Regions from separate parts of the Homo sapiens genome. Here all the other regions are linked to region 1. The links are contacts of gene promoters, found by promoter capture Hi-C in human tissues and cell types (Jung and others, 2019). All regions are on one chromosome and are shown on one strand. Each heading gives the region's core, a stretch centred on a gene start or on the middle of the fragment in contact. The rest is flanking DNA. Distances are from core to core; before and after follow the strand shown. Region 1 holds the start of ZNF491 (zinc finger protein 491). Region 2 has its middle 12 kb from the start of ZNF20. Region 3 overlaps ZNF136 (zinc finger protein 136). Region 4 overlaps ZNF44 (zinc finger protein 44).

Region 1 (2,700 bases), core at 24-2,523:
CGCCCAGCTAATTTTTGTATTTTTGGTAGAGTCGGGGTTTCACCATGTTGGCCAGGATGGTCTCGAATTCCTGACCTCGTCATCCGCCCGCCTCGGCCTCCCAAAGTGCTGGGATTGTAGACGTGAGCCACCGCGCCCGGCCATACCCGACTAATTTTTTAAAATATTTTGTACAGACGGGGTCTCGCCATGTTGTCCACGCTGGCATCACCTTGCCTTACGCTGGAATGTTAAATATACTCTTTTAAATTGGAAAGGAAATGAAACCCAAATGTAAAGAAAAAAAAAAAAAAGCTCTATGGGGGCGGGGGGAGGGGGGCGGGCCAAACTCTGATTAAATTGTTGTGCCTCACAAACTAGCCTTGTATAAAAAACGTTGTAATCCTGTTAAATTTCTTGCCTATATAAGCAAGAACTTAAACTTTTAAATTTGAAACACTGAGCCCATTTCCGTGGATCCTGTGTTTTCCCAAATGGGCCATTCCCAGCTTCTTGCTTGAGTAAACTTTAAAAAACTGGAATCTGATTCTTTTATTTCAGGTTGACAAGTCCACATACGGCGACAGCATCACTGTAACTAATCAAGTATTTAATCCTGTTTGCCTCCTCATGCAACTTATAAAAGCCTTTTCTTCAATCACAAGCCATGACCGGGTGTTTCTCACTCGGAATCGCTGTTGCTCCAACAAACTCTTTAACTGTTAACAGAGCCTCAGTTTAATTTTTAGCAGAAGAAAGGCGGGACACATCCGACCCCCCATGACCCTCCCGTGGCCCCCGCACAATCTGGGAAGACGCCGGGCTGCGGGCGCGGAGCTGCCCAGAGAGGACTCCGGGGCCGGGGCCGCAGTCGCCGCGTAGGGACGGGACAGGACGCCCGGGGTCCCAGCTGCGGGCCCAGCCCCACCTGGCGGCCGAGCGGACCGAGGGCCAAGCCACGCCATGGGGGACGCGGGTCCCAATCGCCGGGGTCGCCCGAGCGGAGGCCTGGGTCCCGCCACAGCAGGATCCTGTTGGTTCCACCCAGCCCCTCTTCCACGTATCTGGACGCTAGGCCGGGCACTTTACCATTTCCCTGCTTCTTGGTGTCCCGGCGTCCTCTTTATGACTCCGGAGCAGGTCACAGCGCAGGTGACAGCGTCACAGGAGCCGTGGCGGAGGCACCTGGGGCCTCTCGGAGCAGCAAGGACTGGATGCAGAACGCAACGGACCCCAGCAACAAAGGAGTGCAGAGACTCTGAGTGCGGCCTTCTGCTTCCCCGGATTGACAGTTGGCAGGGCCCCGTCCCAGGGCCCCTGATTGGATGGGGTTCCAGGCTCCGCCCCTCAGCCCTGAGTGACAGGGTAAGCCCTGGGTAACGGAGCCCTGCAGAGCCCGGCTGATTAATCCTAGCTACAGCCTTTCTAAGGCTAAGCTCACTCCCTGCGCCCTGGTCGTTGGCTATCTGCATTTCAGCCAAACTTGCTACTTATTGTTAGAAGGGGCACTGTTAGCTTCCTCGATCTTTCAGAAATGTGTGCTGGGAATTCCAGACTCGGTGTTCAATGGAGTCATTCCTTTGCCTCATAGCAGGAAGGAAATCCAGGCCAGGCCAGGCCAGGCAAGACTGCACCAGGAGGGAGAGGCAGGTGTCCTCTACAGGGCGGGAATTGGGGATGAGACTTCCTCACACTCCCCCCGTCCCACCCCTGAATATGGAACCGCTTCCTCCCCCTAGACTTCATTTTCACCAGCAGAAGTTCTCACCTGGGGTCAGTTTAAGCTTCTAACCTAAGTAAACTATTACCTTCACAAACCCTTTCTCCAGGTGACATGTCAGACAAATCTTACTGAGCCTGATCTTCACAGATTATCTTTGTATGTACAAATTACAGTCTGTCGCCGGGACCCTTTGCACGTAAAAACCAAACACTGCCCCCGCAAAACGTCCCTAGGCTCTAGGTACAGCCCCAGTAAGGACAGAACCTCCCCCCAACCCCCCTACACAAAGTGCACCTGCACGTGAGTCTCCTGCTTTCCAGGGCTCTGTAGCTTCTCAGGATCCACATTCCTTCCGCAGCTGTTCTGAGCAGCTGGAGGCCACCTGCAGTAGAGGGCAGGCTGCCCGGGAAACACCCAGGGGAGCTCCCTTTCCCTCCCTTTGCCGGCTCCAGACTGGCCTCAGCAGGGTGTCACTGGCCTTAGGCTCTGCTGCCCCCTACAGGTTATTCACTTCATTGATCGGTTACCTGAGACAAACACCCTCAGTTCCACTGTACGTATGTATAAAGTGGGGAAGGAAAATTCTAAGATAATTGAAGTGAATTAAAAGACTTGCAGGCAGGGTGCGGGGGCTCACGCCTATAATCCCAACCCTTTTGGAGGCTGAAGCGGGAGGACTGCTTGAACCCAGGAGTTCATCATCCTGGAAAACGGAGCCACACCTCGTCTGTACTAAAAATTTAAAAATTAGCAGTGCGTGGTGTCCTGAACCTGTAGTCCCAGCTACTCGGGAGGCTGAGGTGGGAAGATCTTGAGCCCAGGAGTTTGAAGCTTCAGTGACCTATGATCTCGCCACTGTGCTTCAGCAAGAGTTGTGATAGTTGTATCAGATAAAATAGACTTTAAATAAAAAACAGTACAAAAAGACAAAGAAGATCATGAGATACTGATAACAGAATCAATTCAGCAAGATAATATAGTAATACTAAATATATATG
Region 2 (2,828 bases), core at 223-2,722, 330 kb before region 1:
CTCCCTGGTTCACGCCATTCTCCTGCCTCAGCTTCCCGAGTAGCTGGGACTACAGGTGCCCGCCACCACGCCTGGCTATTTTTTTGTATTTTTTTTTTTAGTAGAGACAGGGTTTCACCATGTTAGCCAGGATGGTCTCGATCTCCTGGCCTCGTGATCCGCCCACCTCGGCCTCCCAAAGTGCTGGGATTATAAGTGTGAGCCACCACGCCTGGCCCAAAAATTCTTATTTTGACTATTCATGTCTTATTTTTGCACTTTTTCACAAAGCAAGGTCAAAAAGCAAAGGAAAAATCCTTTAAGATCAATGTACTTAGGTTGAAAATGTGTTTTTTCTCAGGAAAAACTTGTAATTTATATAATTACAATCCTCAGTTTATTTGCAGCATCACCAAATTTTCTTACATATTTCAAATGTGAACTTAAGATATATATTTTTCTCATTATTTACATTTTGCTTCCTACCTATGGCTTTTTTTTTTTTTTTTTTGAGACAGAGTGTCGCTCTGTTGCCTAGGCTGAATTGCAGTGGCACGATCTCAGCTCACTGCAACCTCTGCTTCCCAGGTTCAAGCAAGTCTCGTCACAACCTCCCAAGTAGCTGGCACTACAGGCGAACACCACCATGCCCAGTTAATTTTTGTGTTTTTTGTAGAATTGGAGTTTCACCATGTTGGCCAGACTGGTCTCTAAACTCCTGGCCTCAAGCGATCCATCTGCCTCGGCCTCCCAAAGTGCTGGGATTATAGGCATGAGCCAACATGCCTGGCTCCTCTAGACCTTTTAAATCTTTTACTCATGATATTGGTCAGCCCACGGTCAAAATAATTCATAAAAGGTATATACAAAAATTCAACACCACAATGAAAGTTAAATTCATTTGTTTAGAACCACTCAAGCAACTCAGGTGTACACAGATAGACCTGTGGCAACTGGTGAACAATTAAATGGCACAGAAGTGGCTGGGTGCAGTGGCTCATGCCTGTAATCCCGGCACTTTGGGAGGCCGAGGCGGGCGGATCATGAAGTCAGGAGATTGAGACCATTCTGGCCAACATGGTGAAACCTGTCTCTACTAAAATACAAAAAATTAGCCGGGCGTGGTGGCGGGCTCCTATAGTCCCAGCTACTCAGGAGGCTGAGGCAGAGGAATCCCTTGAACCCGGGAGGCAGAGACTGCAGTGAGCTGAGATCGTGCCACTGCACTTCAGCCTGGCAAAAGAGCAAGACTCTGTCTCAAAATAAATAAATGGCACGGAAGTTGCAATAATGACCTCTGCTGTGCAGTACTCTCTTGGCAGAGATACACAAGAACTCCAATAAGGCCCTCATATGATATGCAGAACTGCCTCAAACATCATGTGACCATAGAACTTTGCCAAGGACAGTCTTTTTGTACATCTCTGCACCTGGCTTACCCAAAGATTGGACTGGGCGCATTTCTCAAGCCATTGTCTACTGAACGTTCTTTGTAGCGTGTGGGGCAATGACGATTGCCTAGGTGTAATTTCCTAATCGCTGGGGTAGGTCTGGTTTCTGAGGGCCCAGCAGAGGAACTCAGTTCACAAAAATGGCTTCCTGTAGTTTCTGCTTGATACTTCCTATTCTGCCATCTTCCCAGAATCCTCTTTCCTGACTTCATATACTAACACGTCATTTCAGATCTCACTACAGATGTCACCACCTCAAGACACTGTCTTCTTTTCCGCCCCCCTTACCCCAACTTGAAACTCAAGGTCACACTCTCTCACCCATTACTCCTATTTCATTTAGTGTGTAGAATTTTTTCAACACACTTGTCAGAATCTGGAACATAACGTTCACAGGGTTGATTGCTCTCTGTTTAACAAGGTAAAAAGTTAAGTCATGTAGGCTGGGTGCGGTGGCTCACGCCTGTTATCCCAGCACTTTGGGAGGCCAAGGTAGACAGATCACGAGGTCAGGAGATCGAGACCATCCTGGCTAACATGGTGAAACCCTGTCTCTACTAAAAATACAAAAAATTAGCCGGGCGTGGTGGCGGGCGCCCGTAGTCCCAGCTACTCAGGAGGCTGAGGCAGGAGAATGGCATGAACCTGGGAGGCAGAGCTTGCATTGAGCCAAGATTGTGCCACTGCACTCCAGCCTGGGTGACAGAGCAAGACGCTGTCTCAAAAAAAAAAAAAAAAAAGTCATGTAAATTTAAGTGTCACCTTTCTTTTCTTTTCTTTTTTTTTTTGAACCTTTTCACCAACTGTTACACACTTTTTTTTTTTTTGAGACAGAGTCTCGCTCTGTCGCCAGGCTTGAGTGCAGTGGTGCGATCTCAGCTCACTGCAACCTTCACCTGCTGGGTTCAAGCAATTCTCCTGCCTCAGCCTCCCGAGTAGCTGGGATTACAGGCACGCACTACCACACCTGGTTAATTTTTGTATTTGTATTTGTATTACAGATGTGAGCCACCGCGCCTGGCTTACACCCTATATTAAAAAGTATTTCAGGGGCCAGGCACGGCGGCTTATGCCTATAATCCCAGCACTTTGGGAGGCCAAGGCGGGCGGATCACTTGAGGTCAGGAGTTCTAGACCAGCCTGGCCAACATAGTGAAACCCTGTCTCTACTAAAAGTACAAAAATTAGCCGGCTGGGGTGGTGGCCACCTGTAATCCCAGCTACTCGGGAGGCTGAAGCAGGAGAATCACTTGAACCTGGGAGGCAGAGGTTGCAGTGAGCTGAGACTGCAACACTGCACTCCAGCCTGGGCAACAGAGCAAGACCTTGTCTCTAAAATAACATAACATAACATAACATAACATAACATAACATAACATAACATAACATAACAACATA
Region 3 (2,755 bases), core at 111-2,610, 380 kb before region 1:
GCCAAGGTGGGTAGATCACTTGAGGTCAGGAGTTCGAGACCAGCCTGGCCAACACGGTGAGACCCCATCTCTACTAAAAAACACAAAAAAATGGCCGGGCGCGGTGGCTCACACCTGTAATCCCAGTACTTTGGGAGGCAGAGACAGGCGGATTGCGAGGTCAGGAGATCGAAACCATCCTGGCTAATATGGTGAAACCCTGTCTCTACTAAAAATACAAAGAAATTAGCCGGGCGTAGTGGTGGGTGCCTGTAGTCCCAGCTACTCGGGAGGCTGAAGCAGGAGAATGGTGTGAACCCGGGAGGCGGAGCTTGCAGTGAGCCAAGATCACACCACTGCCCTCCAGCCTGGGCGACTCAGTGAGGCTCTGTCCCCCCCCAAAAAAAATTAGCTGGGCGTGGTGGCAGGTGCCTGTAATCCCACCTACTCAGGAGGCTGAGGCAGGAAAATCGCTTGAATCCAGGAGGCGGACATTGCAGTGAGTGGAGATTGCGCCACTGCATTCCAGCCTCGGCGACAGAATGAGACTCCACCAAAAAAAAAAAAACAAAAACAAATGCAAAAACAAAACAAAACAAAAAAACCAAATAGTTGATAACACTGTGCATCCGAGAACAGAAGCTGGTGTTGGGGACTGCAGAAATTATACCTACAATTTAGCAGTTTGCTGCCAGATCAAGGAGAGTTAGGCCGGGGGTGGATTTGATACCCTGCTTCCCACACATTTGAGCAACTCAGATGAAACAGAATCGGATGCTGATGGCGAGGAGGCCTGGGCCCCTCCAGCCATGTCGGACCCCAGGCCCCTGCACACTTGCCATTTCCCACACTCGCCATTTCCCATCTTCGGGGTCTCCTGGGTCCTCCCTCCGGCTACCACGGCCAGCACAGAGCACAGAGCCAGGGCAGTGGAGCCAGGAGCCAGAAGAAAGGTAATGCAGCCAGCTCAAGAAAAGAAAATTCACCACAAGATCGTACAGGGTGGGGTGAGGTTGGGGGCAGACAGGGCTCTGAGGCGCGCCTGATTGGACAATAAGTAGGATGCCATCCTGGCACCCCTAACTGGATATAACTTCAGGCTCCGCCCCTGTGGCTTAAGGGGCAGAACACTTAAGATGTTTCAACAGGGATCCAACGTGGTTCTAGCACACACCGTATGCAGTGGTGTGCCTTCCTCCAGGTTCCAGATACCCATGTCCAAAGTCAGCATCACATATTACATGCATTAAAATTTTTAACCAATGCAAAAATGACAATAAGCCATACCTATATCTTTACGGGGAATCATTATTGTTAACCTCAAAAAGGCAGGACTGTCTATATTGCTATGCACTATCTACATCCACACTTAAGCAGTTCCTGAAATGGTGCTGAAGATGTATAAGAGGTGGAAATATAAATGACCGATGGTGACATTTCTTCACTCACTGATGTTGCCACCCTCCACAGAGAACATATACACACACCCTCAGCTTCCGTATTATCTCACACCATCATTTACTTTCCTTCAAAGTGCTTATTTCCTTCTTATAAACCAGTCTTACCATTTTTTCAACCCCTCTCCTTTCTCACAAAAATATAAGCACCAGGATTTCAAGAATTTATTCACTTTGTGTTCCCATATCAGAGCCTTCAGTGCCTGCATCATTTGTGCTTAATTCTGGATGTTCTGAGTCTACAGTTCTGGCATATGAGGCATATTGAAAAATTAGCATCAAGAGCATATTATCTGAGCAAGAGAGGCTTGATTAGAATAGTGATCATGTCTCTGTCCCTTGCTAGGTTTATATTCTGACAACTTTCCTAGAGGCATTAGCCTAATTTGACTAATAAGGGAGACTTTTAAAAATTATCAGTAGTTGGCCGGGGGCGGTGGCTCACGCCTGTAATCCCAGCACTTTGGGAGACCGAGGCAGGCAGATCACGAGGTCAGGAGATCAAGACCATCCTGGCTAACATGGTGAAACCCCGTCTCTACTAAAATTACAAAAAAATTAGCCGGGTGTGGTGGCGGGCACCTGTAGTCCCAGCTACTCGGGAGGCTGAGGCAGGAGAATGGTGTGAACCCGGGAGGTGGAGCTTGCAGTGAGCCGAGACTGCGCCACTGCACTCCAGCCCGGGCAACAGAGCCAGACTCTGTCTCAAAAAAAAAAAATTATCAATAGTTAGAATTTATATATTTCAACTGAGGTATCTTATGGGAAGCCATGTCTAATTCATCATAAGAAATATTTCAGTGTTTAGGTAATAAACTTAGCGCCACTCCATCTTTTTTACTTCTGGGTAAGAACTATCATAATAACCAAGGCCAGAAATAACCTTGCTTCTTCATAGTATACAATCCAGAGAAGCTTCTTGCTTTGAATAGCAATCAATACACCTGAAGCAAGCACACGTCCTAGAAGAAATTCTTTTGGGCTGGGTGTGGTGGCTCACGCCTGTAATCCCAGCACTTTGGGAGGCCGAGGCTGGCAGACCACCTGAGGTCAGGAGATCGAGACCACCCTGGCCAACATGGAGGAACCCCGTCTCTATAAAAAATACAAAAATTAACCAGGCATGGTGACCTGTGCCTGTAATCCCAGCTACTCAGGAGGGTGAGGCAGGAGAATAGCTTGAACCTGGAAGGCAGAGGTTGCAGTAAGCCCAGACTGTGCCACTTGCACTCCAGCCTGGCCGACAGAGTGAGACTCCATCTCAAAAAAAAAAGAAAAAAAAAAAAAGAAATTCTTTTGAGCGCTCTCCTATTGATACA
Region 4 (2,917 bases), core at 344-2,843, 480 kb before region 1:
TCCCCACATTGCCCAGGCTGGTCTTGAACTCCTTGCCTTTAAGCAATCTGACCCCCTTGGTGCCGAGACCAGCTCAGTCGTGGAGAGCCTAACCCAGCGGCACTAGAGGAATTAAAGACACACACACACAGAAATTTAGAGTGTGGAGTGGGAAATCAGGGGGCTGACAGCCTTCAGAGCTGAGAGCCACAAACAGAGTTTTACCCACATATTTATTGACAGTAAGCCAGTGATAAGCGTTGTTTCTATAGATTATAGACTAACTAAAAGCCTTCCTTACGGGAAACAAAGGGAAGGGCTCTGGCTAGTTATCTGCAGCAGGAACTTGTCCTTAAGGCACAGATGGCCCATGCTATTGTTTGTGGTTCAGGAACGCCTTAAGCAGTTTTCCACCCTGGGTGGGCCAGGTGTTCCTTGCCCTCATTCCGGTAAACCAACAACCTTCAGCATGTGCGTCATAGCCATCACGAGCATGTCACAGTGCTGCAGAGATTTTGTTTATGGCTAGATTTGGGGGCCTGTTCCCAACACCTTGGCCTCCCAAAGTACTGGGATTACAGGTGTGAGCCACCACACCTGGCCTTCTAATGTATGTCTTAGTCATCTTGTGTTGTCCTAGGTGGTTGCACACTTTTTGTGTATTTTACAACATTTTAAAGTAGTTCCTGCCCAGTTTGACTCTGATTGGATTCTGTTGTAGATGAAATAGAAAAGAGAGCCTTGTTTCAGACCTTCGGTTAGTCCCCAGACTGATTCAAAAATACAAAGGCAATAATGTGGAAACAAAATGTGATCTGTACACTCTGTGGTGATCAGAGTTCTACACTGGGAACTCTGCTGTCTTCAGGACTGGCAATGAGATGGGCAGAGATGGGGCCAAAGAAAAAACAATACAAGGCTTTTCTATCATTTTTCACTTTCCTGTTTATGTATCTTTTTCTCTCTGTTAATAGTATGGGATGTGAAAAATTACAGTTTTAAATCTTCTGTTTGTTTTTGTAAAGCTGTCTACTTTCTTGATGAGAAGGTTTTTTTTAAGCATCTTTAGACATTTATGACTTCTATAAAAATTGGTTTATGTAATGTTATTGATTATTAAATGTCTGCTGTTGAGATTTATGGAATATAATTGATATTCATGAAAGCTGACACTGAATTCTGTCTAAGAACATTTGCAGTCTGTCCTCTTCTTTTCTTTCTCCTTCGACATTACCCAGTAGAAAGTTACAATTTTTTCTATTTAGTTGGTAAAATCTCTTTTATTAGTCTTTTGTCATACTTAACTACATTTGATCTACAGGGAACCAGTCACCAGCTTCCAAATATTCTCTCTGTGTAATCACGTAGGATAGGCTAAATCCCCCAAGTAAGACATTGAAAAAACAACAACAACAAAAATATGAAATATCATCTACCAGAGTTGCACATTAGGGACCCTGTGCCTAGAGTGTTTCTTTGTGTATGTCTTAGTCTATAAGACTGTTTTTTTGTTACTTACAACAGGATACCAGAACTGGGGTAATCTATAAGAAATGATATTTATTTTTTGCAGTTCTGAAAGCTGGGAAGATCAAGTAAGGTCAAAGTGGGCATCTGGTGGGAATCTTCTTGCTGATGGGGACTCTGTAGAGTCCCTGGGTGGTACAGGGCATTACATGATGAGGGGGCTGAGTGTCTAGCTGAAGTATCTTCCTCTTCTCATAAGGACACCAGAACCTCATCTGTGATAACCAGTTTATTTATTAAGCCATTCATACATGAGTGGATTAATCCATCCATGTGTTCCAAACCCTCAAGACCCACTCACCTCTTAAACCACTACCTTTGATTACTTCCACATTGGAGATTCAGTTTCAGCCTGCATTTTGGAGGGGAAGACATTCAAACCTAGCAGTGGCTGATTGGGTACACTTCCTCTGCTGAGGATGTAATACAATTCCAAACTCTCAGAGGGAAGTTAGGAGTTAAGCAAATACCATAATTTTTACACAAATAGTTTAGGCACACTCCACCCCCTTTATTAGTTATGCTTACGGGGCCCTCCCCTAAATACATTGTCTAGACACCACGAAAGGTTCAACATTGTGAACAAGCAGTTGTAAGGATATGCCGTCTCAGGACTGCTAATTGTAACTCTCTTTTGCACAGTAGGTGGTAGGACTTTGTCATGACAAGGACTACAGACCCACTGTAGAAACAGACATTAGGAGTAATCCAGGCAATAAGATTCACTTGCATAATTCACCAATAAGAGATATGTTCCTACTCAACTGTTATTTTAGCAAGCCCAATTCCAGCATCAGAATTCCAGCATCAGACAGTGAGTGCAGACACAGAATAAGAGTGGATTTACCACGTCATTGAATAAATGCTTGGAAACCACAGCATCATGGGAAGTTTATGAAGGTGAGTATAGGTTCTCAGTACTGTGAGTTTCAACCTTCCTTTTCTGGACATATGGGATGTTTCAGGACTCAGTGGCCTTTGAGGATGTGGCTGTGAACTTCACCCATGAGGAGTGGGCTTTGCTGGGTCCATCACAGAAGAATCTCTACAGAGATGTGATGCGAGAAACCATTAGGAACCTGAACTGTATAGGTATGGATGACATCATGTCTTCATTTGGTCAATTAGAGACATTTGTTTTGTGGTCATCAATGCTGTTCAGTGATTTGAAATATGGAAAAGGGATACAGTTCATTCCTGAACAACACAGGGTGAAGTGCCAGGCCCCAACCTGTTGTATGTCCTCATATAATCTTTTGTCTGCCACAGCTTAACCTACTTTTGACCAGCAGCCTTATCAGTCATATAAACAAGTGACGAGCACATATATGTCATATGTATTGCATACTGTATTCTCAGAATAAAGTAAGTTAGAGAAAGTAAATTTTTTTTCTTTTTTTTTGAGATGGAG

What was found. Contacts are between HindIII fragments. The study calls those that stand out against the background at their distance.
Region 2: a fragment that was not itself captured here is called in contact with the fragment with the promoter of ZNF491 in region 1 in 1 of the 25 tissues and cell types used here (dorsolateral prefrontal cortex).
Region 3: a fragment that was not itself captured here is called in contact with the fragment with the promoter of ZNF491 in region 1 in 2 of the 25 tissues and cell types used here (dorsolateral prefrontal cortex and spleen).
Region 4: a contact is called between a fragment that was not itself captured here and the fragment with the promoter of ZNF491 in region 1, in 1 of the 25 tissues and cell types used here (spleen).

The regions. Positions count from the first base shown.
Region 1 is chr19:11,797,096-11,799,795 of GRCh38, reverse strand. It overlaps ZNF491 (zinc finger protein 491), which reads right to left and starts at 1,273. Exons shown (of 3, transcript NM_152356.4): 1 at 1,069-1,273. RefSeq lists enhancers at 1,012-1,171, 1,182-1,281, 1,507-2,018 and a silencer at 2,112-2,281. The HindIII fragment of the contact is 4,685 bases long and covers 1-2,700 here.
Region 2 is chr19:12,127,008-12,129,835 of GRCh38, reverse strand. No RefSeq gene overlaps it. Among named protein-coding and RNA genes, the nearest start is that of ZNF20, 12 kb to the left of the region's middle. The HindIII fragment of the contact is 9,523 bases long and covers 1-2,828 here.
Region 3 is chr19:12,179,272-12,182,026 of GRCh38, reverse strand. All of the region lies in intron 1 of ZNF136 (zinc finger protein 136), which reads right to left. Among named protein-coding and RNA genes, the nearest start is that of ZNF136, 18 kb to the right of the region's middle. The HindIII fragment of the contact is 3,876 bases long and covers 1-2,755 here.
Region 4 is chr19:12,275,637-12,278,553 of GRCh38, reverse strand. It overlaps ZNF44 (zinc finger protein 44), which reads left to right. Exons shown (of 4, transcript NM_016264.4): 2 at 2,472-2,598. Among named protein-coding and RNA genes, the nearest start is that of ZNF44, 18 kb to the left of the region's middle. The HindIII fragment of the contact is 9,813 bases long and covers 1-2,917 here.